6 separate regions of the Homo sapiens genome follow, and regions 2, 3, 4, 5 and 6 are each linked to region 1. Evidence: promoter capture Hi-C in 16 types of primary human blood cells and fetal thymus (Javierre and others, 2016). All regions are on one chromosome and are shown on one strand. Each heading gives the region's core, a stretch centred on a gene start or on the middle of the fragment in contact. The rest is flanking DNA. Distances are from core to core; before and after follow the strand shown.

Region 1 (4,980 bases), core at 1,119-3,618:
TTAAGCAATAAGGAAATCTATCTCCACCCACAAGTGTGGTAACTCCTGTCATGCCTGTCTATCTGGTATGGAGGCTTCCCCTAGGAATCACTCACCTGCACAGATCTGAACGTAGTAATGAAAGGCAACATGATATGATAGCCTGGTCCACTGGGGCTAGTTAGTAAAGCTCCTCCCCTGCAAAAAGATGTTTCAATTTGACAAAATTATAAAAAGAAAAATTATCTTTCCAAATCTAAAATGCTATAATAAATACTCACTCTTGCTCATGCTGCTGACCTACTAAAGCCTCACTAATATGAATTGCTCATAATGAACAACTGCTTAAAATACCTCCACACCTAAAAAGGGAAAAAGATCAAATTAAACTGCCAATGTTACACCTTGTTTCATAAGCTCAACCAACCGTACCTCTGGGTCTCCAGCACTGCTCTAAGGTTCAAAGGATTCTCCTCGGTCTTTAACCTTCTGAGAAATATTTGTTTAAAAAATTCTAATGGCTTTCAGTAGAGGTACATTAATAGTACATAACAAGAGCCAAATCAAAATATATAATACATTTAATCACCAGGTTGAAAAAAAGACAATGCAAACTTTGAAGTAAAGAGAAAATTTCTGAGGCTTATAATTCTTTCGATCTATCTACAAGGTAATTAAAATACTGGGAACATAAAATTTCTATATAAAAACAAAAAATTAGCATGAAAAGATGAAGGGTGACAAGACTATACAAATAAATAGCATAAGGGCTTGTTAACCAAATCCTGGAATGTGAAAACTATGAAAGCAAGCCCTGGAAATTATAAAAAGGAGGCATTTGGGGAGCAAAGAAAACAAAGTCCTATTTTGCACCTTGTAAATTCATAGAACTTAGCTACCGGTCTTGAAAATATAAACACATTTGCAAGGTCATAATAACAAGGAAAGATGAACTGTTTGAGGTTCATTACTAATTCTTTGAGTCATTCCTTGAAATGTCCTTTCTCTGGTTTTACTGTCAGAAAGACAATGCTTTTAAACTGGAAGGAAATCTGGACTAATCTGTAATTTCTTATGTAGAGCTCCATCTGCTAAGATATACCATTAAAATTGCTCTTTTTCTAGGATTCAGGATGGATTTGAAAGTAGAAATATCAGTTTTGAGGGATAGTGGAAACAAGCAAAAAGTTGACGCTCTTTTTGAATACACCATTATCCCAATTTCTCCACAAACTGGCCTCTCTTACTAGTCTGTATCAAAAGGAACTTGTGGTAATTAGGCTGAAGGAAAAGCTAAGCGAGCTCAACAAGAGAGCAACAGCTCCCACACCACTCCTGTCCCCAACTTGAACAGCAACAGTAAGGAGGGAGGAGCATGGCCCATCAGTGTTGTGCTTATGTCCCTGGAGGTCCAGGGACATAAGCACCATCACAGTCATCATGGTGTTACAAGACGTAACCAGACACTGGAAGCTTTTAAATGAAAAAGTCTAAGAAACAACCATAAACATACAGCATCTACAGCGGCAAACTAAAGCCTGTACAGTTGAACGAACTATAATTTATCCATCTCTTCAGTTAGAGGTAGAGTGACTACTTCCTTTCTTCCTTCTTCATTTTTCTACAAATAATTGAGTTTGCTGTGTATAGGAATAACCGTAGGGAGACTTAATCTCTGCAACAAAACGAACATAGCACTAAAACTGTCCAACATCTGGAGGGTGCTCCGCAAAAGCCCGCTTCGACCCCCGTGCTCTCCCTAGAGATGGGACATGCGCCCCCGAACGTTGCAGAGGGAACAACTTCCCAGACTCCACTCTGGAGTACCCTTTTAATCTGCTCTAGAGCCCTAACTGACTGCACATGCCGCTCACCTGTAGTACACAGCCAGATGGCCCTCCTCAATCTTGTGGATGGAGGCGTAGAGCAGGACAGCCACCAACCCCACCACTGCAGCCACCAGAACCCGGGCTTGAGTCATATTCATTCTCGTTCCTCCTGGGAGCGGGAGAAAAGGACCCTCAGTCCCGTGAGTGACAGGTCCACCCCCTCCAGTTTCTACCCTCTCCCTCCGGAAACTTGGCGCTCTCTCGCAGGCTGAGCCGGGGAGTCCAGTACCCCTGTCCCCTCATTCTTCCCTTCTGGCTGAGCCCGCTGACCCCTTGCCAACTCCTCCGCCCCCGGAGGCCAGTGGGCCGCCCCTGCTCGGTGAGCTTCCTGAAACTCCCTCTCCCAAGGGTCGCTCCCGGGTGGAAGGCACTAACTGAGAAGAAGCCCAGCCGCAGGCTCGCGAGGAAAGCCGACCCCTCGGCCGCGCCTCACCGATCAGTGACGCATCGCCCCCGCCCGCACGTGCAGCCGACTCCCGCGCCGAGCCAACCGCCGCCAACAGCCGGCCCCGCCCACTCGCCCAGCACTGCGGCTGCGCGGGGACGCACACGGCGTAGCCCCGGCCCGCGGCTAGTGAGACGGGGAGCGCATGGGACAAAATTCTCCTAGCCGCGGGCCGCGCAGGCTCCTTTGGAGGCAAGTCGCTTTCTGTACACTGCTGGTTAACTGCTTCGGAAGAGGACAGCCCGCAGTCTGGAGTGAGCAGCGAAGCAGAGAAAAGGAGACGCCCTTTCGGACAAGGGACTGGTTGGTTTGTTCTTGTGCAGAGAACCCACTCGCTCACTCTCAAACGGTAGCTGTTCGGTTTATTTGTCCTTTTGCAGTGTATGCGGAGCCCCACTGTGTGGCACGCACTTGCTTCCGGCAGAGATCCTGCCCTTCAGGAGCAACTAAACTTGTTGCAAATAAAGTGCTGTGAAAGTTCAGAAGAGGAAGATATTAGATATAACGGCATCATTCTCTCGTTTTTTAAGTGTTCCTATTATGTGCCAGAATGCTGGTCCAGTGAGGGCTTTATGAAGGCCATCCAGACTACAGGAACAGAATTGCTAAGCACATGGGGCGGGAGGCGGAGGGAATCCTCCAGGGAGACCAAAGTAAGTACTTCAGTTTCCTTGAAGGCTTGTGTGATGGGAAGGAGTGCTATGGTAGGCGTCACTACATATTCTGTTCGTTTTAAATTAAAAAACCATGGGCACATATTGCCAAAAATAAAAAAGGGAAGGAAAAAGGTATAGTTGGGAGATAGATGAATACAAGAGAAATTAAGGACATTAATGGTTTAAGCCTTGAAAGGCTAGAGGTGGAACTATAACTGGACAAGGTGGACTAGGGTTGTAAAGTCCTCTAACCCAGCGGACGGGGTGGGGGTGTGTGTGGGTTGGGGATGAAACTGTTCCACTTCAGATCATCAGGCATTAGATTCTCACAGGGAGCCGGCAAACCTCACATGTGCAGTTCACAATAGGGTTCGCGTGCCTATGAGAATCTGATGCCACTCGCTAATCTGACAGCAGGCAGAGCTCAAGGCGATAATGCTCACTCGCCCGCCGCTCACCTCCTGCTATCCGGCTTGGTTCCTAACAGGCCACTGTCTGGTTCCGGTCCGCGGCCCAGGGCTTGGGGACCCCTGCCCTCTTGGGTAGGGAAGTATGGGAAAGCAGTGCTTTAGGGCCAATGAATCTATAAAACGGCTGAAAGTGGAGACAGACTGTTGGCAAGGAAGTCAAGTGGTTAGGAAACTGCAGGCCCAGGGTTACTTAGTAGTGGAAGTAAGAAGAGGTAAATAGAATCAATCCGTCTTCATTAAAGCAAGACTTCCCAGACCACTCTACCCACACCCTTCAATAAATACACTTACCTGTATCATTCATTTGATTTTTATTATCTAGGAATGTCTGGGACCTTATCTGTTCCAAATAAATGATATTTGCAGAGCTTAGCTATTTTAACTTCCAAAAAGCAAAAAGAATGGAAAATAACTTGCTCCATACCCTGTTTTCTGTAGACATTCTCTGAAGTTTTTCATAATATTGCTTAAAGAATGAAATGTATACAATTCACAACTGCCATTCCCCTCTGAAAAGTTGTTACCCACCAAAAAATAGTGGTCCAACTCATGCATCAAAAGCAAGTTTGGGGATCCCACTATAATAGTCTGTTCTGACTCACACCATCTGCCCAAATTATATAGATCAGGCTGCCCTGACATAACCCCAGCCACACACCAGCAGCGGCCCCCACGCTATAACAAATCTTTAACCAATTATTAAAATATTAGAAAATGCATGACCATTGAAAATAATCCTTAACAATAATTGCAATGCTTGGATGGCTTGTAATGTTCAGACTCCCAGATAAGCACTTTTACTATACTGCCTATGTTGTTTCAGATCTTGCCATCTAGCTTAATACCCTCCAAGTAACAGGTACCCAATAAATGTTTATTACTAAAATCTTCTAAAACCAGGGAAACAAGAGAGAGACTGCCTATTATAATAGATGACGAACAGTGATATGTGATGACTAAAAAATTTGGTTGACTAGGAAAATGATACCACTAGCAAAAATGGGGATGGTGGGGCTGTGACATCAGTTTATAGGGCAAGAATCGAGCATGTTTTTTAGATGTAGATAGTGGTGATAGGACATCTCAGAGGAAAACACTCTTAAAGAAGTTGCCCAATACTACCTTTACCATAAGTCCTATTATTCCTAAGGAAAGTACAGTTATTCTATGCTCTTAATTCCACTTCATGGAACCTTCATATTTTCCTAAGCCATATTCAACTGTTTTATTATAATCTGATTTTTATAATGAATAGAGATCAAGAAAGTAATTTAAAAACCATTTAATACACAAAGTGAAAAACTATTAGAATATAAAAGCATTTCACATTTTTTAAGACAAATAATATCTTCTAAATTACTTAGCAGATGATAGAGGTCCACAGTCCTTTCTCTGAAACCCTTGGGGCAAGTTGTTTCAGAATTATGAAATTTTAGATTTTAGAAAAGTAGTTTTGTGCATATACCATACTACATTAACCAGCCCTCACCACAGTCTGTGGCAGCAGCCCTCCCTCTCATCATCAAGCAGCAAAATAAAGG
Region 2 (4,980 bases), core at 1,757-4,256, 420 kb before region 1:
AGACATGCATGAAGAACATGCTGCCTTGACCCAAGCATCTCCCATTAGGCTCCCACCTCTAACATTAGGGATCAGATTTCAACATGAGACTTGGTGGGGGCCAAACAAACCGTATCCAAAGCATAGTATTCTGCCCCTGACCCCCCAATCCCATGTCCTTCTCACATTACAAAATATAATCTTCCCATCCCCAAAGTCTTAACTTGTTCTAGCATCAATTCAAAAGTCCAAAGCCTCATCTGAGACTCAAGGTAAGTTCCTTACAGCTGTGAGCCTATGAAATGAAACATATTATTTGCTTCCAAGATACAGTGGTGGTACAGGCACTGAGTAAACATTCCTGTTCCAAAAAGGAGAAATCAAAGAAAGGGGGCAATAGGCCCCGTGCAAATCTGAACCCCAGCAGGACAGACATTAAACCTTAAAGCTCTAAAATCTACTTTAACTTCACATCCTACAACCTGAACACACTGGTGTAAGGAGTGGGCTCCAAAGCCTTATGCAGTTCTGTCCCCGCAGCTTTTCTGGGCATGGCTCAAGTGAGCTGCTCTCATGGGTTAGAGTTGAATGCCTGTGACTTTTCCAGGCTGAGGGTGCGTGCTGTTGATGGTTCTACCATCCAAGGTCTGGAGGGCAGTGGCCATGTTCCCACAACTCCATTAGGAAGTTCCCCAGTGGGGACTCTGCAGGGGTTCCAACCCCACATTTCTGCTTTGCATTGCCTTAGTAGAGTCTCTGTGGGGACTGCCCCTGTGGCAGGCTTTTACCTGGGCACTCAGGCTTTCTAATACTCCTCTGAAATCTAAGTGGAAGCTGGCAAGCCATGACTTGCATTCTGTGTGCCTGCAGACTTAACACGGAAGTTACCAAGGCTTATAGCCTACATCCTCCAGAGAGGCTGGAGCCAGAAGAGCTGGGATGCAGGGAGCAGCATCCTGAGGCAGGAGCCACACAGCAGCAGCACCTGGGATTGTCCCTCAAACTATTCCATCCTCCTAGGCCTCTAGGCCTTTGATAAGAGGGGTAGCCTTGAAGATTTCTGAAATGGCTTCATAGCCTTTTTCTCATTGTTCTGACACCTGGCTCCCTTTTATCATTGCTAATCTCTCTAGCAAGTGATTGGACTCGGCTAATCCAATATTCTTGGATTCCTCTCCTGAAAATGCCCTTTCCTTCTCTACCACACGGCCAGGCTTCAAATTCGCTAAATTTTTATTCTCTGCTTTTAAGTTCTGACTTTAGGTCATTCCTTTGTTCACATATTTGATTGTAGGTTGTTAGAAGCAGCCACACTTTGTTTTTTTTGGAGACAGGGTCTTGCTCTGTCACCCAGGCTGGAGCAGTGGCAGGATTATGACTCACTGCAGCCTTGATCTCCTGGGATGAAATGATCCTCCCACCTCAGCCTCCCAGTAGCTGGAACTACAGGCACATACCACCACACCCAGCTAATTAAAGAAAAAAAAATGTAAAGTTGGAGGACTCACTGTGTTGCCTAGGCTGGTCTCAAACTCCTGGGCTCAAATGATCCTCCTGCCTCAGCCTCCCAAAGTGCTGGGATTACAGGCATGAGCCACCATGCCTGGCCTCACCACTTATTGAACGCTTTGCTGCTTAGAAAGGCGTGGCCTTTACTGTCTGTATTTCTGTCAGCACTTTGGCCACAACCGCTCACACAGTCTAATAAATCCCAAACTTTCCCTTATCTTCCTGTTTTCTTCTGAGCCTTCTAAACTCTTCCAACTTTTGCCCATTACCCAGTTCCAAAGCCACTTCCACATTTTCAAGTATCTTTATAGCAACCACCCTCTCCTTGGTACCAGTTGTCTTCCTTAGTTCATTTGTGTTGCTATAAATGCCTGAGGCTTTGTAACTTGAAAAGAAATTTTATTTGGCTCACAGTTCTGCAGCCTGTACAAGAAGCCTGGTGCCAGTATATCCTAACCACAACATCATTGATTGGACCAATCCAGAAAAAGGGTTCTGATTGTCCAGGCCCTCTTGTACAGTCAAAAGACTGGCAGCTGGTGTTTATCTTTTCCTTTGAAGGCTCAGGGGTTAGCTGCTATATAGACAAGGGCTGTCCTAATAATAAACCTGACTGCATTTGCACAAAACAGTAGAGTTAGCTTTTCCCTTTCTGCCTTAAATCTTGATGCTCGATTCTCTTCCTTACTAATGTGTTTTGTGGCATTTTTTCCTTACTGATAAATGTGTTTTGTGGCATTTTTTTGTGGCAAACTGATGCAGACAGAAAACCAAATACCCCATGTTCTCACTTATAAGTGGGAGCGAAACATTGGCTACATATGGACAAAGACGGGAGCAATAGACACTGAGGACTACTAGAGTGGGGAGAGAAGGAAAGAGGGAAGGGCTGAAAAACTACCTATTGGGTACTATGCCAACTACCTGGGTGATGGGTTTAGTGATACTCCAAACCTCAGCGTCTTGCAATATATCTTTGTAACAAATCTGCACATGTATCCCCTGAAGAGTACAAGTTGAAAAGAAAAAAAAAAGCCCCTGTAGGCTGGGCATGGTGGCTCATGCCTGCAATCCCAGCACTTTGGGAGGCCAAGGCGGGTGGATCACTTGAGATCAGGAGTTCAAGACCAGCCTGGCTAACATGGCAAAACCCCGTCTCTAGTAAAAATTTAAAAAGTAAAAAAAATTAGCCAAGTGTGGTGGCACGCACCTATAATCACAGCCACTCAGGAGGCTGAGATAGGAGAATAGTTTGAACCTGGGAGGTGGAGGTTGCAGAAAGCTGAGATCGCGCCATTGCACTCCAGCCTGGGTGATGGAGTGACTCTGTATCAAAAAAAAAAAAAAAAAAAAAACTATAATAAACATGTTTATTGTATTAAACATGTTTCCCTGAGTTCCGTTAGCTACTCCAACAAATCAATCAAACCTGAGGAGGGGGTTGTGGGAATTCAGATTTATAGTTGGTCGGTGACAAGCACAGGCAAAATAATCTGGGGCTTGCAATTGATGTTGGAAGTTGGCTGGTGAGGAGTGGGAAGTTGGGGGACAGTCTTGGGGACTGAGCCCTCAACCTGTGGGATCTGATGCTATCTTCAGGTAGATAATGTTGAGATTGAATTAGAGTACACCGAGCTGGTGTCTGCTGCAGAAGTGATTGCTTGCTTGGTGTGTGTCAGGGAGACCCTCACTCCCCACATTTGGTCATAAAAGTCCTCTGTGTTGATTGTTGTGAGAATAGAAAAAACACTTTGAGTTTTCCTACTCTCGGAAAGATCAGTATATGAAATAAATTGTATTGCTTTACACTAGCAACAAACAATCCTAAAATGCAGTTAATAAAAGTTCAGTTTATAATAGCATCAAAAAGATAAAATGCTTAGGAATAAATGTAATCAAAGAAGCGTAAGACAGGCCAGATGCAGTGGCTCACACCTGTAACCCCAGCACTCTGGGAGGCCGCGACGGGTGGATGATGTGAGGTCAGGAGTTCCAGACCAGTCTGGCCAACATGGTGAAACTCTGTCTGTATTAAAAATACAAAAATTAGCCAGGTGTGGTGGTGGGCACCTGTAATCCCAGCTACTTGGGAGGCTAAGAAAAGAGAATCACTTGAACCTGGGAGGCAGAGGTTGCAGTGAGCCAAGATCGCACCACTGCACTCCAGCCCAGGCAACAGAGCAAGGCTCAGTCTCAAAAAAAAAAAAAAAAAGTGTAAGACAGTATACTGAAAACTACAAAACATTGTTGAAAGAAATTTTAAAAGACTTAACAATGAAGAAATAAATGGAAAGACATCCCATGTTCATAGATTGGTAAACTTACTACTTTTAAGATTCCAACACTCTTCAATTGATCTACGGAGTCAATGTAATTGCTAGCAGAATTCCAACTGCCTTTTTGTGTAAAAGTTGACAAATTGATCCTAAAATCCATCTGGAAACGCAAATGCCCCAGGATAGCCAGAAAATCTTGAAAAAGAAGAACAACATTTGATGACATACTTCCTGATTTCAAAACTTACTACAAAGCTATGGTAATCAAGGCCATGTAGTACTGGCATAAAGATAATTATATAGCTCAATAGGATACAATTGAAAGTCCAGAAATAAGCACTTACATTATAGTCCATTGATTTTTGACTAGGATTCCAAGACAATTCAGTGGGGGAAAGAATGGTCTTTTTAACAAATGATGCTTAGACAACTGGATATCCACATGCAAAAGAATAAAGTTGGACCCTTACCTTACACCAAATGCAAAAATTAACTCAAAGGGTCATAACCTAAATTTAAGAACTAAAAAACCTTTTAGAAGAAAACGGGTAAATCTTTGTGACCTTTGGGTTAGGCAAAGCCTTCTTAGACATAACATCAAAAGCATGAATGACAAAAGAAAAAAATTGGATAAATTGGATTTTATCAAAGTTGGAAACTTTTATGCTTCAAAGTGGCATCAATAAAGTGAAAAGACAACCCTCAGAATGGAAGAAAATCTGCGAATCATATATACAATGGGGTCTTGTATCTAGAATATGCAAAGAACACTTACAACTCAACAATAAACAATAACCATTTCCCATCCTGGCTAACATGGTGAAACCCCGTCTCTACTAAAAATACAAAAAATTAGCCGGGCGTGGTGGCGGGCGCCTGTGGTCCCAGCTACTCCGGAGGCTGAGGCAGGAGAATGGCGTGAACGTGGGAGGCGGAGCTTACAGTGAGCCGAGATCGTGCCACTGCATTCCAGCCCGGGCGACAGAGCGAGACCCTGTCTCAAAAAAAAAAAAAAAAAAAGAAAATAACCATTTCTCCAAAGAAGGTATACAACTGACCAACAAGTACATGAAAAAATGCACATCATTCGGGAGGCGGAGCTTGCAGTGAGCCGAGATTGCGCCACTGCACTACAGCCTGGGCAACAGAGCAAGACTCCATCTCAAAAAAAAAAAAAATGCACATCATTAGTCATTAGGGAAATGCAAATCAAAAC
Region 3 (4,980 bases), core at 631-3,130, 390 kb before region 1:
AGAAAATAAAACAATAGTGTATTTGGAGTGAAGTGCGACTTGAGACAGGGTAACAGGGGAAGCTTCTCAGAGGAGATGACATCTGAACAGACACTCAAATGATGAGATCAGGCCCTCTGAGGGACAGTCAGAGGGAAGTGTGTTCCAGTCAGAAGGAGCAGGCATGCGAGGCTGAGAGGGGAACACATTTGGCTTGCTCAGGGAATGGCAAGAAGATCCAGGACAGGGTGCGCATGGGGTGAGATGGGCTCAAGGAAGTGGACAGGGATTAAGCTATGTGGACCCCTGTGGGCCACAATAAGGAATCTGGACTTTGTCTGAAGTCTGATTGCCAGCGGAAGATTTTGAGCAGAGGAGTAATGAGACTGGATTCATGCTGTGAAAAGCTTACTTGGGCGGCTCCCCAGAGGATGGATCGTTGTGGGCAAGAATGGAAGCTAGAAGGGAGGCCAGGGCAGTTGTCCTGGCAAGGGAGACCCATCAGATGGGACCTCAGTGAAAGACATTGTGAGAGAGTATCACTGGTAGGCTGAGAAGCTGGAATTTGGGGCAAGATGAGACTCAGGAGGACATAATGAGGAGGCCAAAGCATAGACAGAGGCTGGTGACTGAGTCGTAATGCCCCATGTATTAGTTTCCTAGGGCTGCCATGATAGAGTACCACAACTGGATAGCTTAAAACAGAAATGTACTGTCCCCAGCTCAGGAGGCCAGAAGGCTGAAGTCAAGATATCAGACTCGCTCCCGCTGAAACCTGGAGGGGAAAATCCTCTCTTCCACCTTCTAGTGTTCCCCAGCAATGCTTGGCATTCCTTAACTTCTGGATGCATCACTCTGACCTCTGCCTCCACCATCACAGGACCATCTTCTCTCTGTGTCTGTCTCTTCTCTTCTTGTAAAGATATCAATCATACTGCATTAGGGCCCCAGTGACCTCATCTTAATTTGGTTACATCTGCAAAGACCTTCTTTCGAAATAAGGCACATTTTAAGGTATTGGGGGTTAGGGCTTCAACATAGCTTTTGGGGGTGGGGATACAATTCAACCCATAACATCTCACAGCAACCATGAAAAGAACAAGCATGAAAAGAACAGAAAGGACCTCTCAGCATCATGCCCAGGCCCTTCACTCTCAGGACTGCCCCTCAGGCCCCCACGCAGATGGGTCTCTCTTTTTACATGGGACTCTTACCAGCTTAGTTGCCTGGTTTTCTAATCTAAAATAGATTACAAGTATCAGTTAGGAGCGGGAGAGTGGAACAGTGAAGGCAGCTAGAAGGGCAGAAGCAACTAGGCCAGGGAGAGATGATCAAAACCTGTACAGAGAAGGCCACGGGGCTCACAGGCTGACCACCCTGGAGCTGCTCAGGCCAGTAACAGACATAACTCTGTGGACACTGTTGTTTGGTTTTGTACCTAGGAAGATGTTGAAAAGAAAAAAAAGAAGTCTGGGACCAAAAAAGATGTTCCAAAATCCTGGTTGATGAAGGCTCTGTTCAAAACTTTCTACATGGTGCTCCTGAAATCATTCCTACTGAAGCTAGTGAATGACATCTTCACGTTTGTGAGTCCTCAGCTGCTGAAGTGAGTCTCCAGGCCTCAGATGGTCCTTTCAGGGCCTCCTCTGCCACCCTCCTTTTTGCCACTGTGTATGCAAGCAGGAGCTTTTCTTAAATTCCCATTTTTTAAAAATGCTCGTAATTTTCTTCCACCTTAACCTTACAGCATTGTGTTCATGAAGACCGCAGGCAGTTTTCAAGATGTATGATGATATGTACTTTAGCCTCTCTCTTTTCCATGTCTGTCTCCTCATAGGGGGCCGGGTAATTGTTAGGGGCTGTTTCTTGTTAAACTGCTAAGGGCTGAGCCAGATCCAAGTGGCGGGTAGCATACCCCTGGAGAGTAACTGACTTCATCTCTCCATCGCAGCCTTCCACGGGAGGTTCAGGTTAATCTTGACAAGACTTCACAATCTGTCATGACCTGTGGAGTGAACCACCTGCAGGGAAAGACAGGGCCAAAGCATTGCAGTGACAGCTAGGTGGAGCATTTCTGTCATTATCCATTCTCACAGCCATGGGTTATCAACCCTAAGCTCTTGCTGCTCATCTCCAAGTAAAAGCCAGAACGCCAGGCTGGACATGGTGGCTCATGACTGTAATCTCAGCAGTTTGGGAGATTGAGGCAGGAAGATTGTTTCAGGCCAGGAGTTAGAAACCAGGCTGGTCAACATAACGAGACCCCATCTCTACAAAAGAAAATAGTTAGCTAGATGCGATGGCGTATGCCTGTAGACCCAGCTATTTAGGAGGCTGAGGTGGGAGGATCACCTAAGCCCAGGAGTTCGAGGCTTAATGAACTATGATCCTGCCACTGCACTCCAGCCTGGGCAACAGAGTGAGACCCTGTATCAAAAACAAAACAAAACAGAAAGGACACTGGTAAAACTGTAGACTTAGGTCTTTCAAAGGCTTTGGACAATTCTGGTCACTTTTGTTACCTACAGTGTAAAGATAGTGTAGTCTAGCTGGCTGTGCATGAGGAGAGAGGCATCCTTGGAGGCCTTATGGGTATAACTAACTTGGCTTTTCTCTGGCAGATTGCTGATCTCCTTTGCAAGTGACCGTGACACATATTTGTGGATTGGATATCTCTGTGCAATCCTCTTATTCACTGCGGCTCTCATTCAGTCTTTCTGCCTTCAGTGTTATTTCCAACTGTGCTTCAAGCTGGGTGTAAAAGTACGGACAGCTATCATGGCTTCTGTATATAAGAAGGTAAGCAGAATACGGCAGGTATCACCAAAGAAAATCCCCTCAGTAAATATGAGCATTGATTCCAAGGTTGAGGAAAATGTGATGGAAATGGTAACTTATCTCAACACTTAATGTTGACTGGCCATACAGCCTCCTTTAGATGTTTCTTTGGAAATTAGATTTTGAGAAGTGTGTTCACAGACAATGGGTGGAGAGGCCAGGAGGGAAAACGTACTCCCCAGGGAGAAGCCTGCAAGCTGTTCTGGTGCTCAGGATCCACCTTGCAGCCCTGAAGGCTTGGCTACCCATCCATCTCTTCCTGCCTCTCTTGACAAGGTGAAATGCCTTGGAAAAGAATATAAGGTCAGAAAAGAAGCTGGTGAAGGGTCAAACTCTTAAAACCACCAACATTTAACTCAAATACTTAATGAAATCCAGCTCAGAGACCTGGTGTATCCATCTCAAATTGCAGTCTTGCCGGAGCTCCACCTCCCCAGACCAAATTTCACCTAGCAACTTCTTTTTCTAACCTTTAGTGCTAACCTAAACCTCCTCTGTCTGACTTCTTTTTTCAGTTTGTAAATACATTCATGCTGATTACTGAGTTCTGCAGACCTGGAAGCTTTTTCATTTCCTTAAGATGATTTTGCTCATCTTCCCTCTGATACATTGTTTGTTGTTGTTGTTGTTTTGTTTTGTTTTGGTTGTTTTTGAGATGGAGTCTCGCTCTATCACCGAGGCTGGAGTGCAGTGGTGCAATCTTGGCTCACTGCAACCTCCATCTCCTGGGTTCAAGCGGTTCTCCTGCCTCAGCCTCCCAAGCAGCTGGGACTACAGGCACGTGCCACCACGCCCGGCTAATTTTTTGTATTTTTAGTAGAGATGGGGTTTCACCATGTTAGCCAGGATGGTCTCGATCTCCTGACGTCATGATCTGCCCACCTCAGCCTCCCAAAGTGCTGGGATTATAGGCATGAGCCAACGCGCCTGGCCGATACATTGTTTTTAATGGTTAACTTTCTCAAGGAAACTGTATGTTCCTCATGTCCTCCATACCAAGATGAAGTCCCATTTTGTTCCTTAAGAAATGAAAATACAGTAGTTATGATCAGTGACTACAGGCTTGAGGAGAAAATTCATCCAGGAGGAGATAGGTTCCAATCTTTTTATAAGTTGGAACACTAGTTGACTTTCTTCCTTTTTTTCTTCCATCACTGGAAAGTTCCATCATAGTAACTTCTCTATTACAGTTCCTACTTTTCTCCTTTGCTTTCCTCTCTAGAAACACCACTGTGTCTTTGTCTTCCCTGAGTAGATGTTGGTTCGTTGAGAGACAGTGGCAGATAATCCAAGTGTCTTTAAATCAGAAGTCTAGTCAAGTCCTTTGAACTCCCAGATACCCCCCAACTGGAATTTGCCTTCCTCCAGTTGATTTTTAAAATCTCCTTATTTCTTCTGGAGATACTGAGTTTCTGCTGGTTTACAAGTTATGAGGTCACTAACCAGCCTGTCTCAGCCATTGCTAGTAAAGTACACTTCTACAATTTTTTCATAATTGTGATTATTCATTCGCACTATTTTGGTTCTTAATATTCCAGGTTTTGCAACTATTACAATTAATAAAGAGATTTATAAAATAGAACCCTCAATGACACTTTTATTCAAATAAATATCGCTATTAGAAGAGTGGAAGAAAATTACTAATTTATATGTTTAGACAATGCTTCACTACTTATGAAACATTTTTTACATTCATTATCAATTCACAGGGCTATTGCCCTGTGAAATAAGTACATTATACCTATTTTACAGAGAAAAATCAGGCTTAGATAATTTCAATGCCTGCAAACACATAGCCAGGAGTTGTCCCCAGACAAGGGCTACTGGGACTGTATTTATTGAAAATAGAAATATATAGTGATTACCTTGAAGGGCAATTAGATGTTGTTAGTTGTTGTTTTTTTTTTTTTCCCCTCTTCCATACCAAAGGGAAGGCATAGCAGTGGGTTGATTCCTCTAGAACCTTGGTGGTCTAACATTTTAGAAAACTTTCTTCTTTTTACTGTACAGCCAAGAATCCTAATATGTTCCAAAGAATGTATTGGTGGATTAAGATGACAGTAATGCTTCTAGGAGGAGATGGAAGTAGTATGGGCCACTTGTAGCCTGTACACTGTCTTTGTGGGAATTACAAGGTGGCTCTCCTTCTTCTGGAAAGATGCA
Region 4 (4,980 bases), core at 1,170-3,669, 350 kb before region 1:
TAGGCAACAGTCATAGTTTGAAGACTGCTTTTGCATGAGAAAGGAAACTGTCATTAATTATATAGTATGTTTCGTTGGGGAGGTGGCTCAGACCTATTAAGGGGAGTTTGATCAAGGGGCCTCTGGGATCAATGGCTGAGTTAAGAGGAGATGGAGTGGAGGAAGGAAAGATGGAGACTCTGTGCCAGGTAAGGATCAAAAGTAATCTGCATAGAACTGATAACTGGTAGGGATTTCTTTTCTCTGCCAACTGTGGGTATAGTTATTTGCATTCTGATAGGACTTTGGGAAAGGTAGGTTAGACTCAGGAGTCATCCATGATTCAGAGCTTTCCTGGAAGACCATTATCCCTGATACAGTTTGAGAAATTCCAGAGATAACTTAAACTCACTTTGGTACTCACATATTACCAATCATAGAATCAATATAATCCCCACAAATTTAGGCAAGGGCAACCCAAAATATAAACCAAGCTTCTTGAGTGTTCTCCAAACCATCCATCCATTCATTCATTTTTCTTATTTGTTCATTTATTTCACATGACACGAAGGCAACATGGCAGTAAGACACATCTGTTCCCGCTGGGTTCCTTGGTTAGAACACTGTCCAGGCAGGCTCACATTCAACCCCAGCTCCCTTCCCCTTGGTCCTCTATGCTTAGCAGAGGAAGCAACTTCCTGAGTATTTTTAGTAGAGATGGGATTTCACCATGTTGGTCAGGCTGGTCTTGAACTCCCGATCTCAGGTGATCCACCCGCCTCGGCCTTGCAAAGTGCTGGGATTACAGGTGTGACCACCACGCCAGGCCTAAATGAAGAAATTATGGAAATGAAATTGGTTATTGGGGCAAGCAATGCAGCCTATTGCAAATGAACACAATGAAATGATTACATGAAGGAGTACTGGGAACACACAGAATCCAACAGATTCCTTGCTAGAACTAGGAAGATGTAAACTATCTTAGGAAGACCTCAGTGATGGTGTATCTCTCCTAATCGTTTTCCTAGGATATTTCCACAGTGGATGACACCCTGCCTCAGTCCTTGCGCAGCTGGATTACATGCTTCCTGGGGATAATCAGCACCCTTGTCATGATCTGCATGGCCACTCCTGTCTTCACCATCATCGTCATTCCTCTTGGCATTATTTATGTATCTGTTCAGGTAGGTTTGGAAATGGCTAAGTCATCCTTCCTTCCTCTCTATCTATAAAAGCCCAGCCTCTTTCCTGAGAATCTTCTCTCTGATTCATTGCTAGTCACTCACTCCTCCCCTCAGCAGCTTTGCCATTTAGTCATATGTTGACATACCCAGGAGCCCACAGGCCACTGTCTGAAGCTGAAGTGAGAGCATCAATGGGTGCACCATTTATGGCAAATGTCACCCTAACTGCTGCCCACCCTTCACTCCCTGGAAGCTTAGGTCGGACAGATTTACGTTTGGATCCAAGACTACTTTGAGATTGGCTCTGGACACAGTCTTGCAGCTCCATAAGAACCCCCATGACGATTAGGTCGGTTCCAGAAGAGCCATGCTATGGTGCTTCCTTGGTTGACTTTGGACAGGCATAGCTGCTTGGAGATGTCTCTCAGCAGCAGCTGGGTCTTTCTTTTTACTTCGGCAAAGTTCTAGTTTCACTGGGGTGTCTGTGGGTGGTTTAGGCTCAATTCCAGTGTATTCTTCGAGGGAATGTGCAGCTTGAAAGCAAAACAGGGAAACTGGAACGAGTGGAAGGAACCCTATTCCCACAATAAAATGGATGAGGGAAGGGGAGGCTGTGGAGGAACTCTGGTCCCACCAGCTGCTTTTGTGGTGAATTGTTTGCCTGGGGAAACAATTCTGAAGACACTGATCAGGGGCTCGTGGCCTTGTGGCCTGCGATTGGCGGCTCGCCCCCATGTCCGTGTACAGTTCCTCAGGCACATTGTCACCATAGCGGCCTTTTAACTATTAATAACAAGCCAACAAACAAGAAGCAGGGTTATTGGAGGGAACATCTGTATGTCCATGTATAACATTTTGCATCCCGTCTCTCCAACGCCCCACTCTTCCCAGGTTTCAACAAATCCTCACAGAATCTAGTAGCAGCACGGACCCATTCCACTCCCCCTTGCCCTCAGGCCACAGGGTTCTTCCCTGCATTGGATTCTACCCTGTTCCAGTTCTTACCCCCTCAGCACTCTGCATACCTCCAGAATTCTCTGTACCTTCACACACCACCGAGGCACAGTTTTGGTCACTTAATTGAACAGATTCTTCCCTTTTTACCCAAACCTAGGCATGCCTTTTTCTGGCCATTTCCTGCCCATCCCCACTTTACACACCCCACGGGCCCCACTGCCTTTACAAAATCCTTTTGGGGACCTTTTCTCTAATGAGTACAGAAACTGTCACATGGATGATAGCCGTAGATCTGGGGGATATGGGTTAGGCTGACGGAACTCCTTAGGAGGTTTGGAGACTCAAAGCTCTGAGGCTGCAGTGTGCTCTCCTCACGTTCACCCCACTCTGTTCCCCACCAACCCCAGTCTTCTCATTGGTCTCCTCCTCGGAGCCTCTCATCATTCTGCTCCCAGACATGGCACTGCAGGCTTTTGTCTTGTTCAGACGTAAGCTGTGCCCATCAAGGGGAAGAATGCTGGGTTGTGGCCAGAAAGGAGGAAGATGGTGGATGCCTCATGACTGCGGGACTGGCTGATTCTTTACTTTTTGTGTCCAGATGTTTTATGTGTCTACCTCCCGCCAGCTGAGGCGTCTGGACTCTGTCACCAGGTCCCCAATCTACTCTCACTTCAGCGAGACCGTATCAGGTTTGCCAGTTATCCGTGCCTTTGAGCACCAGCAGCGATTTCTGAAACACAATGAGGTGAGGATTGACACCAACCAGAAATGTGTCTTTTCCTGGATCACCTCCAACAGGTGAGGCTTCCCCTGGGTATTTACCCATGTGTGTACTTTGGGGTTCTATATGTTTGATATTAGCGGTGGGAGGGCAGGCATGGCTAGTGGTGTGAAATTCACTCTGGCCACACACACTGTCATGCTATGTAAGTGGAGAGAAGAAAGCATGAGCTTTGGAGTCAGAGACTGGGTCCCCATGACAGCTCTGCCGTTTACCAAGCTGGGTGAATTGCCTTGACTTCTCTAAGGAGAATCTCCATTTCTTTGTTTTTGTAATGGCCAGAACACACCCTATCTCACAGGGTTCCACCTGTCTCATGGTGGAAGTCAAATGACATTTGTGAGCATTTTGTAACCCAGTACCAAATAAGTGCTGGGTGAACTGAACATCCTCTGTTTACTTTTCTGAGAACGGATGTGAGATTCTCCATAGTCATGACACTCTTTCTGGGTAGTGAAGGCAGTGGAGGTTGGAGAGAGGAGAGTTGGGAATTTTTAGGTAAGACCATTGATGACAGAAAGGGAAGCTTCCGTCTTGTGAACAGGGTGAGCATTATTCTCCAGTATCCTTAAGCCCTGGCAAGCAGTATGTCCTGGAAAGAGGAAGATCTTTTTCAGGAAGAAAAATTCTTGAGTGGCTTCCAAAGTGTCTTGAGGCGCTAAAGATGCTCAGCATTATTTGGAATGTGGACAGGTCAGGAGTTTGATTGTAAAGATATTTTATTTCTTAGAGACTTTCTAAGAAGGAAAAGGCATATAAGTAAATCTTATTAGACCTTCACTGTAAAGGACATATCATATTTATTCATACACATGCTGGAATTATTGGTGCAGACATTTAAATACATTTTCTTTGAGAAAGTCCTTTTTTTTTTTTTTTTTGATGGAGTTTCCCTCTTGTTGCCCAGGCTGGAGTGCAATGGTGCAATCTCAGCTCACAACAACCTCTGCCTCCTGGGTTCAAGCAATTCTCCTGCCTCAGCCTCCCAAGTAGCTGGGATTACAGGCATGCACCACCACGCCCAGCTAATTTTTTTTATTTTTAGTAGAGACGGGGTTTCTCCGTGTTGGTCAGGCTGGTCTTGAACTCCTGATCTCAGGTGATCTGCCCACCTTGGCCTGCCACAGTGCTGGGATTACAGTCGTGAGCCACCACAGCTGGCCTGGGAAAGTCCATTCTTTTTTTTCTTTTTTTTTTTTTTTTTAAATTTATTTTTTTATTGATAATTCTTGGGTGTTTCTCACAGAGGGGGATTTGGCAGGGTCATGGGACAATAGTGGAGGGAAGGTCAGCAGATAAACAAGTGAACAAAGGTCTCTGGTTTTCCTAGGCAGAGGACCCCGCGGCCTTCCGCAGTGTTTGTGTCCCTGATTACTTGAGATTAGGGATTGGTGATGACTCTTAACGAGCATGCTGCCTTCAAGCATCTGTTTAACAAAGCACATCTTGCACTGCCCTTAATCCATTTAACCCTGAGTGGACACAGCACATGTTTCAGAGAGCACAGGGTTGGGGGTAAGGTCACAGATCAACAGGATCCCAAGGCAGAGGAATTTTTCTTAGTGCAGAACAAAATGAAAAGTCTCCCATGTCTACTTCTTTCTACACAGACACGGCAACCATCCGATTTCTCAATCTTTTCCCCACCTTTCCCGCCTTTCTATTCCACAATGCCGCCATTGTCATCCTGGCCCGTTCTCAATGAGCTGTTGGGCACACCTCCCAGACGGGGTGGTGGCCGGGCAGAGGGGCTCCTCACTTCCCAGTAGGGGCGGCCGGGCAGAGGCGCCCCTCACCTCCCGGACGGGGCGGCTGGCCGGGCAGGGGGGCTGACCCCCCCCACCTCCCTCCCGGACGGGGCGGCTGGCCGGGCGGGGGGCTGACCCCCCAACCTCCCTCCCGGACGGGGCGGCTGGCCGGGCGGGGGGCTGACCCCCCCACCTCCCTCCCGGACGGGGCGGCTGGCCGGGCAGAGGGGCTCCTCACTTCCCAGTAGGGGCGGCCAGGCAGAGGCGCCCCTCACCTCCCGGACGGGGCGGCTGGCCGGGCAGGGGGGCCGACCCCCCCCACCTCCCTCCC
Region 5 (4,980 bases), core at 758-3,257, 330 kb before region 1:
CAAGTAATCTGGCCAAAATTTTACATCACGCAAATGAAAACGAACAAGGTTAAGGGAACTATTCATATCTTGAGGGCAAAATAGGAAACTGTGTGTTGTAACAATTAACTGGGTATGGGGAGGTGGAAGCTCAAGCCGTGAGAGGCAGATGTTGACCATAGACCTTCCTAACTGTCCTGAGCCTCAGCTGCTGCTCTGTAAAACAGCCAGAAGCTTTCTATTCCTTCCAGCTGTGTCATATTACAATCAAAAGTCAGTAATCTTAGAAAGCTGTTTGGAGATGATAGGCACCCTTTGTAAACCAATCTATCCTTAAACAATGTGCACTTCTTTTAAAAACTCATGTAAATGGACTCATACTGCCTGTATTCTTCTATTACTTGATTCTTTTGTTCAATATTATTTGCAGAATTCATCCATGTTGATGTGTGTAGCTGTGGCTCATTGATTTTCACTGCTTTGTAGCCTTGTCTGACTATACCACAACTTAGTCCTGGTTATTCTTATAAATGCCTAGACTTGAGATGCTGCTTTCTAAGACTTTTATTTCTTTCTTCCTTGTTTCAGGGTAATGGTCCTAGACAACGGGAAGATTATAGAGTGCGGCAGCCCTGAAGAACTGCTACAAATCCCTGGACCCTTTTACTTTATGGCTAAGGAAGCTGGCATTGAGAATGTGAACAGCACAAAATTCTAGCAGAAGGCCCCATGGGTTAGAAAAGGACTATAAGAATAATTTCTTATTTAATTTTATTTTTTATAAAATACAGAATACATACAAAAGTGTGTATAAAATGTACGTTTTAAAAAAGGATAAGTGAACACCCATGAACCTACTACCCAGGTTAAGAAAATAAATGTCACCAGGTACTTGAGAAACCCCTCGATTGTCTACCTCGATCGTACTTCCTTGCTACCCACCCCTCCCAGGGACAACCACTGTCCTGAATTTCACGATAATTATTCCTTTGCCTTTCATTTCTGTTTTATCACCTTTGTATGTATCTTTAAACAACATATACCCTTTTTTACTTATGTAAATGGACTGACTCATACTGCATACATCTTCTATGACTTGATTCTTTTGTTCAATATTATATCTGAGATTCATCCATGGTGATGCAAATAGGTGCATTATTTTTTTTCACTGCTCTGTAGTCTGGCATTGTATGAATACAGCACAATGTATCAGTTTTAATATTGGGGATCATTAGCATTATTCTCAGGTTTTTAAAAATTATAAGCAGTACTACTATGGACATTCTGGTCTACATCTCCTGGCACATATGTAAGAGTTTCTCTAGGGTATAACCTAGGAATGGAGGGTATGAACATGTTTACATGCACAAACTAGCTGATGCCAAACTGGTAATGCCAACTGAAAACATTGCTGTCAATCTGATGAATATGAATTGATGTATCAATGAGAATTTCATTTGCATTTCCCTAGTATCTATTGGGGATGAATATATTTTCATGTTTCTGGGGCATTTGCATTTCCACTTGTTTTTTAAATATTGTGTCTGATAATTCCAATGTCTGGATTCTTTGTTTATCTGTTGTTTCTGTTGGTTTTTACTCATGGTATTTTATTTCCTTGTATGTCTTGTGAATTTTTATTATAAGCTCGTTCTCCTTAAAACTTTATCTGTGGACATTCTTTGAGGCCTAAGTTGACCGTGAATTCTTCCTAAGGGAATTGGGAATGCTTTAGCCTGCTGCCTGGGGCATTACCCAGAACCTCTTTGAATGAAATTCTTCACTAAGGGGTTTCAAACCACAGTGCAACTTCAGACCACAATCCTGTACAAGAGCCAGCTTGTGATTTACAAATTCTCCAGGGAAAGTGACAGGTTGGAGATAGGCATGGGGTTTTGTTGTTGTTCTTGTTGACTCCTGCATTCTGCATGGCAGGACCTAGGCCTCTTTACCTGTACATTGCAGGTATAACCCTTTCATGACACAGGTTCATCAGAGGGTTTTAGTCTGCACTGTGGCAGACCTTGGCTTTATCTCTTGCCTTGACCTCCTACATTATCAACAAAGTGAGAGTTTAAGATCTCCTGGGCAGGAGATTTCAGAAGCCAGCCTAAGTTTTGGGCCTTCCTCACCTCCTAGGGCCTTTGTGTCAGGTTCTTTTGGGTTCTTCATATTCCTTACCTCCCTTTCAGTGATGTTATGATAAAGATTTTGATTTATTCAGCATTTCACGGTCTGTTTAGTGAGGTGCTTAACATTGAACTTCTGAAATGAAGGGCATATAGCTAGTGTAAGCATACCTCTGGTTTGCCCTGAATAGTTATGGGTTACATCTGTTTTCCCAAAACAATAATAGCTCCCCCTTTCACACACGCACAAAAATTGTCTCATTTGTATGATAAACTTGTGTGCCTCCTACACATAGCCCTGTGAATTCGATTTTGAATCACAGCATGGATGGAGATCAACAAAGTTGTATAGATATTGAAGTGTTGGCTGGGGGGGCGCTATTCATGGAGAATCCCCTCCTTAATTCTGCAAACCAGATCTAGTACATTGTGAATATTCTATAATCATTGGCTATTTTTTACAGCTAGCTTTTCAGATCTATACCTGCTTATGTACATGAAATGTAGCTCCTGTAAATTGCAGATTAGTGTATATTAATCTAAGATGCCATCAACTGTAAAATACCTGTTATTTTCTATACCACGAAGAAAGGATACTGCCAATTAAACTTTGGTATGCATTGTTGGTAAAATGCATCCTATTTGTGGAAAAAAATTAGCATTTTAAGATTAATACAATACAATACCTGTAAAGCTCTATAAGAGCTAAGTCATGTCCTTTATTTCTGCTATTGATCCTTGTTCTTTTTTCCTGATTGTTCCAGTCTGTATTGCTCTTTTAATCCAATATCATCGTCATCATCATCAGCATCATCATCATCATCATCACTTCCCTTATCTCTTTTTCTCAACTATTTCACTGCTAGGTAGCTAACTACTGTTTTTACCATCTATTCTTTCTAATCATTAGAATTTCAAAAAACTGCTTTTTCCTTTTTTTTAGTGGTGTTTTTAAAATTTATTTATTTATTTTTTAGTGTTTATTTTGAAAGCACATTCCATACACGCGTACTTTCCAACTTGCTTCTTAAATGAGTTTTTAGATATAGAGCATTTAGAGGGGCAGGAGGAACTTTGGAAAACAAAGGAACTATTTACGCTGACTGCAGAAGCCAGAGAAATGCAAGCTAGGTAAAGCACCAACAGTAAAAGTGAAACTAAAGGAGAAGCCTGATATTTTCTCAATTTGTTTCTCAAACAAAATGGTCCAGGCTGATGTCGATATAGTTATCACCAGAGAACTTTGAAGATTATCAGCCATCACTTATTTATTTAGCTTCCAGTAAATGTCTGACACTGTGCCAAAAATTTTTTAAAAGCTATCTAGGGCGGGTGCTGTGGCTCACACCTGTAATCCCAGCACTTTGGGAGGCTGAGGTGGGTGGATCACCTGAGGTCAGGAGTTCGAGACCAGCCTGGCCAACATGATGAAACCCCGTCTCTACTAAAAATACAAAAATTAGCCAAGCATGGTGGCACATGCCTGTAATCACAGCTACTCTGGAGGCTGAGGCAGGAAAATCACTTGAACCCGGGAGGCGGAGGTTGTAGTGAGCCGGGATCACGCCATTGCACTCCAGCCTGAGCAACAGAGCAAGACTCCATCTCAAAAAAAAAAAACAAAAACAAAAGCTACCTAATATAAACTAAATAAAGATTACTTTCCATTGTGGCCTAATTAATAACCCTTTCACAAGCTTTATTTCACTTACCGATTTCAGGGACAATTTTAGATAACTACCTAAAACCTATACATTCCCAAATTCCACCATATCTTCACTGTTTTTCACTGATCTTTTGGGCACTTTCTGTGCCCTTCCCAATTCTTCTGGGTGCATGGAATCATAGTGTTCAGAAGTAAAGGTGCCTATGCCCATCGTTAGGCTACTATCTCTCAGTTTCAAACCTACCCTTTTAGATTTTGCTCTGTGATGCTGGGACTTATAAGTCTCATTTCTGCTTTGCCAACTATTCCTATTAAGTTCTGACAATAGGAGGTGCTGGAGGGACACTGGACGCAGCCTGGATGAGGAAGAAAACGTGCTCCTTCTCGTTGGCTCTGTTGCTATTAGCATCACTCTAACAGTTTCTCTGCAGCAGCAGTTCTCACAAGTAGCCACATTGATTTTAGTTTGCAGTTTTTCAACATTCACAGAAAGTGTCGTCAGGCCCAAAACCAACACCAGCTGAGCAGCGTCCCCTTTTTCAGAAGCAATAAACAGACTGAAAGAAAACAAACTAATTTTACATTGATACATTGGCACAAACAGGAAGAATAAGTCTATAAAAATATAAAGAATAAACCTATAAGAATAAACCATCAGGCCTACATTTCTGGCAGAATAATTTTGCATAAGCACTTTTGGAAACATCCTCAGAATAAATTTGTCCTGTTTATATAATAGAATGAGAATACATTTAACCACAAATGCATACCGATCATGAATTTATTTTAGAATTAGCAAACAATATTGTACAAACATTGGTATTTAAATCTCTAAGCTCCTGCAACTTAGATTTAGTTAGCAAAGACTATATTCTACTCTGAGTTTGGTCTTCCACATGGACTAGACACTAGACTGGTTTTTTGAAAGGTTTCATATTGTTCGAAAATACCATAAGTAGGCCAGGCACAGTGACTCACACCTGCAATCCCAGCACTTTGGGAGGCCTAGGCAGGCCGGAATGCTTGAGCGCAGGAGTTCGAGACCAGCCTGAGCAACAAAGTAAGACCCCGTTTCTATAAATAAATAAAAAAAAATACAGAAAGTTAGCCAGGTGTAGTAGTGCATGCCTGTAGTCCCAGCTACTCAGGAGGCTGAAGTGGAAGGATCGCTTGAGCCCAGGAAGTCGAGGTTGCAGTGAGCTGAGA
Region 6 (4,980 bases), core at 1,011-3,510, 310 kb before region 1:
GGTGCTGCGGTTATAGGTGTGAGCCATCATGCCTGGCCAATGGCATTATAAGCACAAAAGTTTTCCATTTTGATGAGGTCTAATTTATCTGGTTTTTTTTTTTTTTTGGTCACTTTTGTTGTCATTTGAAGAAACTAAAGCCTAATCCAAGGTTGTGAGAACTTTTTCCCATTTTAAGAATTGTGTAGTTCTAACTCTTACATTTAGGTCTATGCTCCATTTGGAGTGAATTTTCGTGTGTGGTTTAGGAAGCGGTCTAACTTCATTCTCCTGCATGTGGATATCCAGTTGTCCTGGCACCATCTGTGCAAAAGATGGTTGTTTCCCCATTAAGTTGTTCTGACACCTTGGTCAATTCATATTTGACAATACATGTAAAGGTTTATTTTTATGTTTTTTGAGACGAGGTCTCACGCTGTCACCAGGCTGGAGTGCAGTAGCATGTTCACTGTTCACTGCAGCCCCAACCTCCCAGGCTCAAATAATCTTCCTACTTCGCCTCTCAAGTAGCTGGAATTACAGGTGTGCACCACCATGCCCAACTAAGTTTTGTATTTTTGTAGAAATGGAATTTCACCATGTTGCCTAGGTTGGTCTCGAATTCTGGGCTCAAGCAATCCTTCTACCTCAGCCTCACAAAGTGTTGGGGTTATAGGTGTGACCTGCTGTGCCTGGCCAAAGTTTTAGACCCTCAATCTATGTCTATCTTATGTCAGTCTCACATAGTCTTACTTATTGTAGTTTTATATCTTGTTCCTTTTTTCAAGATTGTTTTGGCTACTCTGGGTCCCTTGCGTTTCCATATGAATTTTAGGATCAGTGTGCGAATCTTCTTAACTTGGAGCAGATGCTATAGAAGACTCCCAATAGTGAACTGAGGACCAAAATTATCCAGAAGCCTCTACATGGTGAAGGAAAGATTAGGGAACCAGGCAGGTTATTTACTGGTACTAGGTGTATTTTGGAAATTTCCTAAAGAGTTGTTACCTCTGGGGGTGAGGGTACTCCCTACTGCCATGCAGGCCTCAATTTCCAAATGGTTCAGTCAAAAGACTGGATTTAGAGGATTAGAATTCCAAGAAATCCAAAGGTTCAGGAACAGAGGCAGCCAGGGCAGGACTCCAGACAGCTCTATGTAGACCAGGCCCTGGAGGAGAGTTGAAGGTTATGTGTTGTTTCCACATTGACCTAAAGCAATGGAGACTGGCTTAGACTCTTACTGCTATTCAATCCTTCCTTTAAAGGGCCAGTGTCCTCTTTTGATGAAGGCTCCCACAGAACTGACTAGGAAGGGCCATTCAATGGCTTAGGGCCAAAGTCCTTTTGGTTGTACACATGAGCTGGTGTGTTCTCAAGTGGGTATATAGCAAAGGGTTAAATACATGAGCTTTGCTCTCAGGGCTGGGATTGAAATCTGAGTCTTACTATTTCTATCTGGGTAAACCTGGTTGAGTTTCTTATCCTCTGAGCATGAGTCATTCTGTTTTTGAGACGGTCTCACTCTGCTGTCCAGGCTGGAGTGCAGTGGTGTGATCACGGCTTCCTGCAGCCTCAACCTGCTGGGCTCTGAGCATCAGTTTTGTTACTTCTACACACCTTGTAGTGTTCTTTTGTTGGGCGGGGGTAGGGGGTGACATAGGATAATGCAGGGTAAGCCTTGGCACAGTGCGTGGCTCAGTGAGTGGAAGATGCTATTTTGGACAGAACCCTGAGCTTCCCAGAAAGCTTACAGACTCTCTTGAGGACATTGTGTGCCATGGGATGTTCCTTGGAACCAAGGCACTCATATTAGCATCATATATAATACAAAATAACTAAGTAGAAACGTCTGGCCATTCCCTCATATTCTGAGAGTCTTCTGTTTGTTTGCACTGTGTGGCCATGAGGCCTTTGTTCTGGTGTGATGATGCTGGCACTTGGGGTAGATGCCAGTGCAAGAACTCAGTCATTTGACTTAAAAAGGGGAGTAGGGGACAGGGAGGAAGAGGGGAAAGCTCGGCAGTAGAAAAATGGGCGGAGAGGAATATTGAGGGAGAGTTGGACTGATGCCGGAAGAAGTAGAAGTCTTGTGTCGATGTTGAAAAGCAATATTTCCAGAAAGTTCTGCCTTAGATGTCATAGGTGGGGTTGTCGTCTTTCATACCCACAAGAAATCTTCCGTAAAGGTCTGTACTACTCTTCATGGCTTTGAAGTAGGTTTTGTGCTTTAAGAAAGTGTTCTGGATGCATAGAGATGTTGAGATAGGACAGTAAGGCAAGAGGACAGTGGCTGAATCTTTTTCTTACCTATATCTGATGTGATTCCTTCACGCTAACCTCCTGCTGGATCTGCAGAGCTGGAAGGGTAATTTGACGGTGGGTGCTTTGGGTGGAGAGGGTGCTGTGGGAGCAGTGGGTACAAGCTGGTAACAACCAGCTCCTACAAGACACAAACTCCATCCAGGACTGTATTTCCGGGTTCTTCTTCCTCGTGGCTTGAATCAAGAGGGGAACATAAGGGGTCAATGATTTGACCCACAGTGAACTCAGTAGTAAGCACCAAGCCTGCTGAAATGCTTTGCATGTATTTTTTCCCCTTTCCGGCTGGATGGTCCATTGGCACCCATCACTTCTCTGCTGTCTCCTAAGCTAGAAACCTGGGATCCATATATCCTAGATACATAGATAGGTTATCTAGAATAGTAAGGGCTTGTAATCCTAGGCCCTTACTACTCCTCTATCAAGAATGGGCAGGTGTGTTGCCTTGAGCAAATGTTAGTCACATGAGTGTCCACAGTGGTCTCAGGCATTCTCGTGAAGCTTCTATGCTACAGGCAGGCCTGGGGGCAAGTGTGCAGCTACCAGCCTGGAGTCTGGGGCTGTGAGGACCTGCTGGGCACTGGGTTTTACTGGGGTAGTGCTGAGGTCCAAGGTTGAATCTGGGACTCGCTTCCCTCTCTTCCCCCCATGCAGAGGGTGTTCCGATGTGTGCTGCGCTGCCTGCGGCTGAGGGAGGGGTTGGCACAGGTCCTGTGAACATGTCCTCCCTGCCCTCTCCAATGCATCTTTTCTTAATATTTGCATGCAACACCCAGGTGCTGTCATCTCTCACATGGTTTTCTTAGCGCTTAGGGTATTTTCATGCACAGATAGTTTAAGATGTTTCCATGGGGGGACAAGCACTGAAAGTCCTCCTCCAGTATCTCGCAGCTGTCCTGTTGCAGCATGGTGCATGTATTAACTCACGGAATCTTCCTATCAACTCTACAAGGTGGATGCTATTACTATCTCTACCTCAACCAGGGAACTGAGACAGAGGTGGGTACGTTGCCAAGGTCACAAAGCTGCCAAGTGTCAGAAGCCAGACAGTCTGGCTCCAGAACAAGGTGTACAGACTCAGCCTGAGCCTGCAGGCCCGAGTTTCAATTCACAACCCCTCAAAAACTTGATATATGACTTGGGTGAGTACGAATGTCTCTGGACCCCATTTTCCTAGTCTATCACATGAGAGTAGCATAGGTGACTTATCAGCTGCTTTCCTGCAGCCTACCCAATTCAGTGATTTCTATTCCTTAACAACACTGGGTGATCGCTTTACTGTCACCCACCATACTGTCCTCAATCCCACCTCTGCCACTAGCCCTGCCACTTCCTTCCCTGCCCCCAACTGCCTGAGCTGCTGCTCCGTGACCTTGTTAGATAACCTTGTGTATCAGTGTCCACATCTGCAATATCAGGGAAATACTTATCCCCTAGAGATCCCAGCTCTTCTGTTTCGTTAGAATTTCACAGGACAAGATGAAAATAGAGGCAGTCACCTGCAGCATGGACATATTTTGAGTATACAGAGATTTTTTTTTTTTTTTTTTTTGAGACAGGGTCTTGCTATCGCCCGGGCTAGGGTACAGTGGTGTGATCTTGGCTCACTGCAACCTCTGCCACCCAGGTTCAAGCAATTCTCAGCCACTTGATTAGCCAGGACTATTGGCATGCAGCACCATGCCCGGCTAATTTTTGTATTTTCAGTAGGGATGGGGTTTCACCATGTTGGCCAGGCTGGTCTCAAACTCTTGGCCTCAAGTGATCCGCCCACCTTGGCCTCCCAAAGTGCTGGTGGGATTACAGGTGTGAGCCACCACACTCGGCCTGAGTATATAGAGATTGTTGGAATCTTTGACAGAATGACTTTGGGCCTGCATTTCTTCAGTTAGCCTCTCCCATTCTCCCAGATCTGGACATCACTCATTGTCAAGAAGGCCTCCCCAGAAGCCCAGGAAAAACGTTCAGCTTAAACAAACAAACAAAAAAACCCGTTCAGCTTAAACATGGAAATCAAGAAAACATCCAAGGCCATTAGAAATGCTTTTATTTATAAAAGAACTACTTAAATATAAACATCTCTACATAGAAACACTCTTCACAAAAGGACTCTTGCATTACTGCCTTCTGACCACGACCAGCAGACACTGTGGATGTTAGGACTCCACGGTGTCTCCCGACTCCCAGGATTTTAAGGCTAAATGTGCACTTGGAGGAACAGGGGCTGTAAGGCTATTTCTTCCCTTTCTTTTAAAAGACAAATTTCATGGTTTCCCATTCCAAGATAGGCTTCATAGCTGGGGAAGATCTTAAGATTCTTGGTCTAAGGGGTAAGCAAATATCTTCCTGAGACTGGGAGGTATGATCAGGCACTTGGGAATCTGGCTTTGAATGTCATCTCTGAAGCATGGAAGTTAGTGGTGAAAAAAATCTTATTTCCAAGTCTAGGATAAGCTACTTCTGGAATGGCTTATCCCAATTCAAGTAAGTCACAGGTGTTATGTTGTCTGCATCTATGGATGTAACTAAACAGTCATTAGGGTGCTTGGATGAAGAAGAAAGACATCCAGTCTTCCATTAGGCTCAACTGGTTTCAGCTCAAAGCAGAACTAATACTTTTAATGGAATGGCTGGAGCTCTCATACTGTTACTCTAGGAAAATCTATCAATTATTGAGTCCAG

Evidence for each region. The method cuts DNA at HindIII sites, captures the fragments that hold promoters and counts their contacts. A CHiCAGO score of 5 or more calls a contact.
Region 2: a fragment that was not itself captured here is called in contact with the fragment with the promoter of ERLIN1 in region 1 in 1 of 17 cell types (M2 macrophages); the score reaches 5.5 in M2 macrophages.
Region 3: a fragment that was not itself captured here is called in contact with the fragment with the promoter of ERLIN1 in region 1 in 1 of 17 cell types (endothelial precursors); the score reaches 5.1 in endothelial precursors.
Region 4: a fragment that was not itself captured here is called in contact with the fragment with the promoter of ERLIN1 in region 1 in 3 of 17 cell types (endothelial precursors, fetal thymus and megakaryocytes); the score reaches 9.9 in endothelial precursors.
Region 5: a fragment that was not itself captured here is called in contact with the fragment with the promoter of ERLIN1 in region 1 in 2 of 17 cell types (fetal thymus and endothelial precursors); the score reaches 6.6 in fetal thymus.
Region 6: a contact is called between a fragment that was not itself captured here and the fragment with the promoter of ERLIN1 in region 1, in 1 of 17 cell types (endothelial precursors). The highest score is 5.3, in endothelial precursors.

Annotation. Positions count from the first base shown.
Region 1 is chr10:100,183,661-100,188,640 of GRCh38, forward strand. ERLIN1 (ER lipid raft associated 1) reads right to left here and starts at 2,369. Exons shown (of 11, transcript NM_006459.4): 1 at 1,854-2,369; 2 at 96-177. The coding sequence starts at 1,966. It overlaps CHUK (component of inhibitor of nuclear factor kappa B kinase complex), which reads right to left. Exons shown (of 21, transcript NM_001278.5): 21 at 4,640-4,980. RefSeq lists a silencer at 2,267-2,416 and an enhancer at 2,587-2,736. The HindIII fragment of the contact is 3,606 bases long and covers 1,451-4,980 here.
Region 2 is chr10:99,759,633-99,764,612 of GRCh38, forward strand. No RefSeq gene overlaps it. Among named protein-coding and RNA genes, the nearest start is that of ABCC2, 21 kb to the right of the region's middle. RefSeq lists a silencer at 1,567-1,767. The HindIII fragment of the contact is 6,331 bases long and covers 1-4,980 here.
Region 3 is chr10:99,797,786-99,802,765 of GRCh38, forward strand. ABCC2 (ATP binding cassette subfamily C member 2) reads left to right here. Exons shown (of 32, transcript NM_000392.5): 8 at 1,422-1,585; 9 at 2,601-2,778. Among named protein-coding and RNA genes, the nearest start is that of ABCC2, 18 kb to the left of the region's middle. The HindIII fragment of the contact is 2,993 bases long and covers 385-3,377 here.
Region 4 is chr10:99,833,373-99,838,352 of GRCh38, forward strand. ABCC2 (ATP binding cassette subfamily C member 2) reads left to right here. Exons shown (of 32, transcript NM_000392.5): 24 at 1,008-1,163; 25 at 2,719-2,918. Among named protein-coding and RNA genes, the nearest start is that of ABCC2, 53 kb to the left of the region's middle. RefSeq lists an enhancer at 595-1,794. The HindIII fragment of the contact is 2,011 bases long and covers 1,415-3,425 here.
Region 5 is chr10:99,850,935-99,855,914 of GRCh38, forward strand. It overlaps ABCC2 (ATP binding cassette subfamily C member 2), which reads left to right. Exons shown (of 32, transcript NM_000392.5): 32 at 568-1,660. The coding sequence ends at 697. Among named protein-coding and RNA genes, the nearest start is that of ABCC2, 71 kb to the left of the region's middle. The HindIII fragment of the contact is 3,592 bases long and covers 212-3,803 here.
Region 6 is chr10:99,871,249-99,876,228 of GRCh38, forward strand. It overlaps DNMBP (dynamin binding protein), which reads right to left. Exons shown (of 17, transcript NM_015221.4): 17 at 4,329-4,980. Among named protein-coding and RNA genes, the nearest start is that of DNMBP-AS1, 53 kb to the right of the region's middle. The HindIII fragment of the contact is 1,074 bases long and covers 1,724-2,797 here.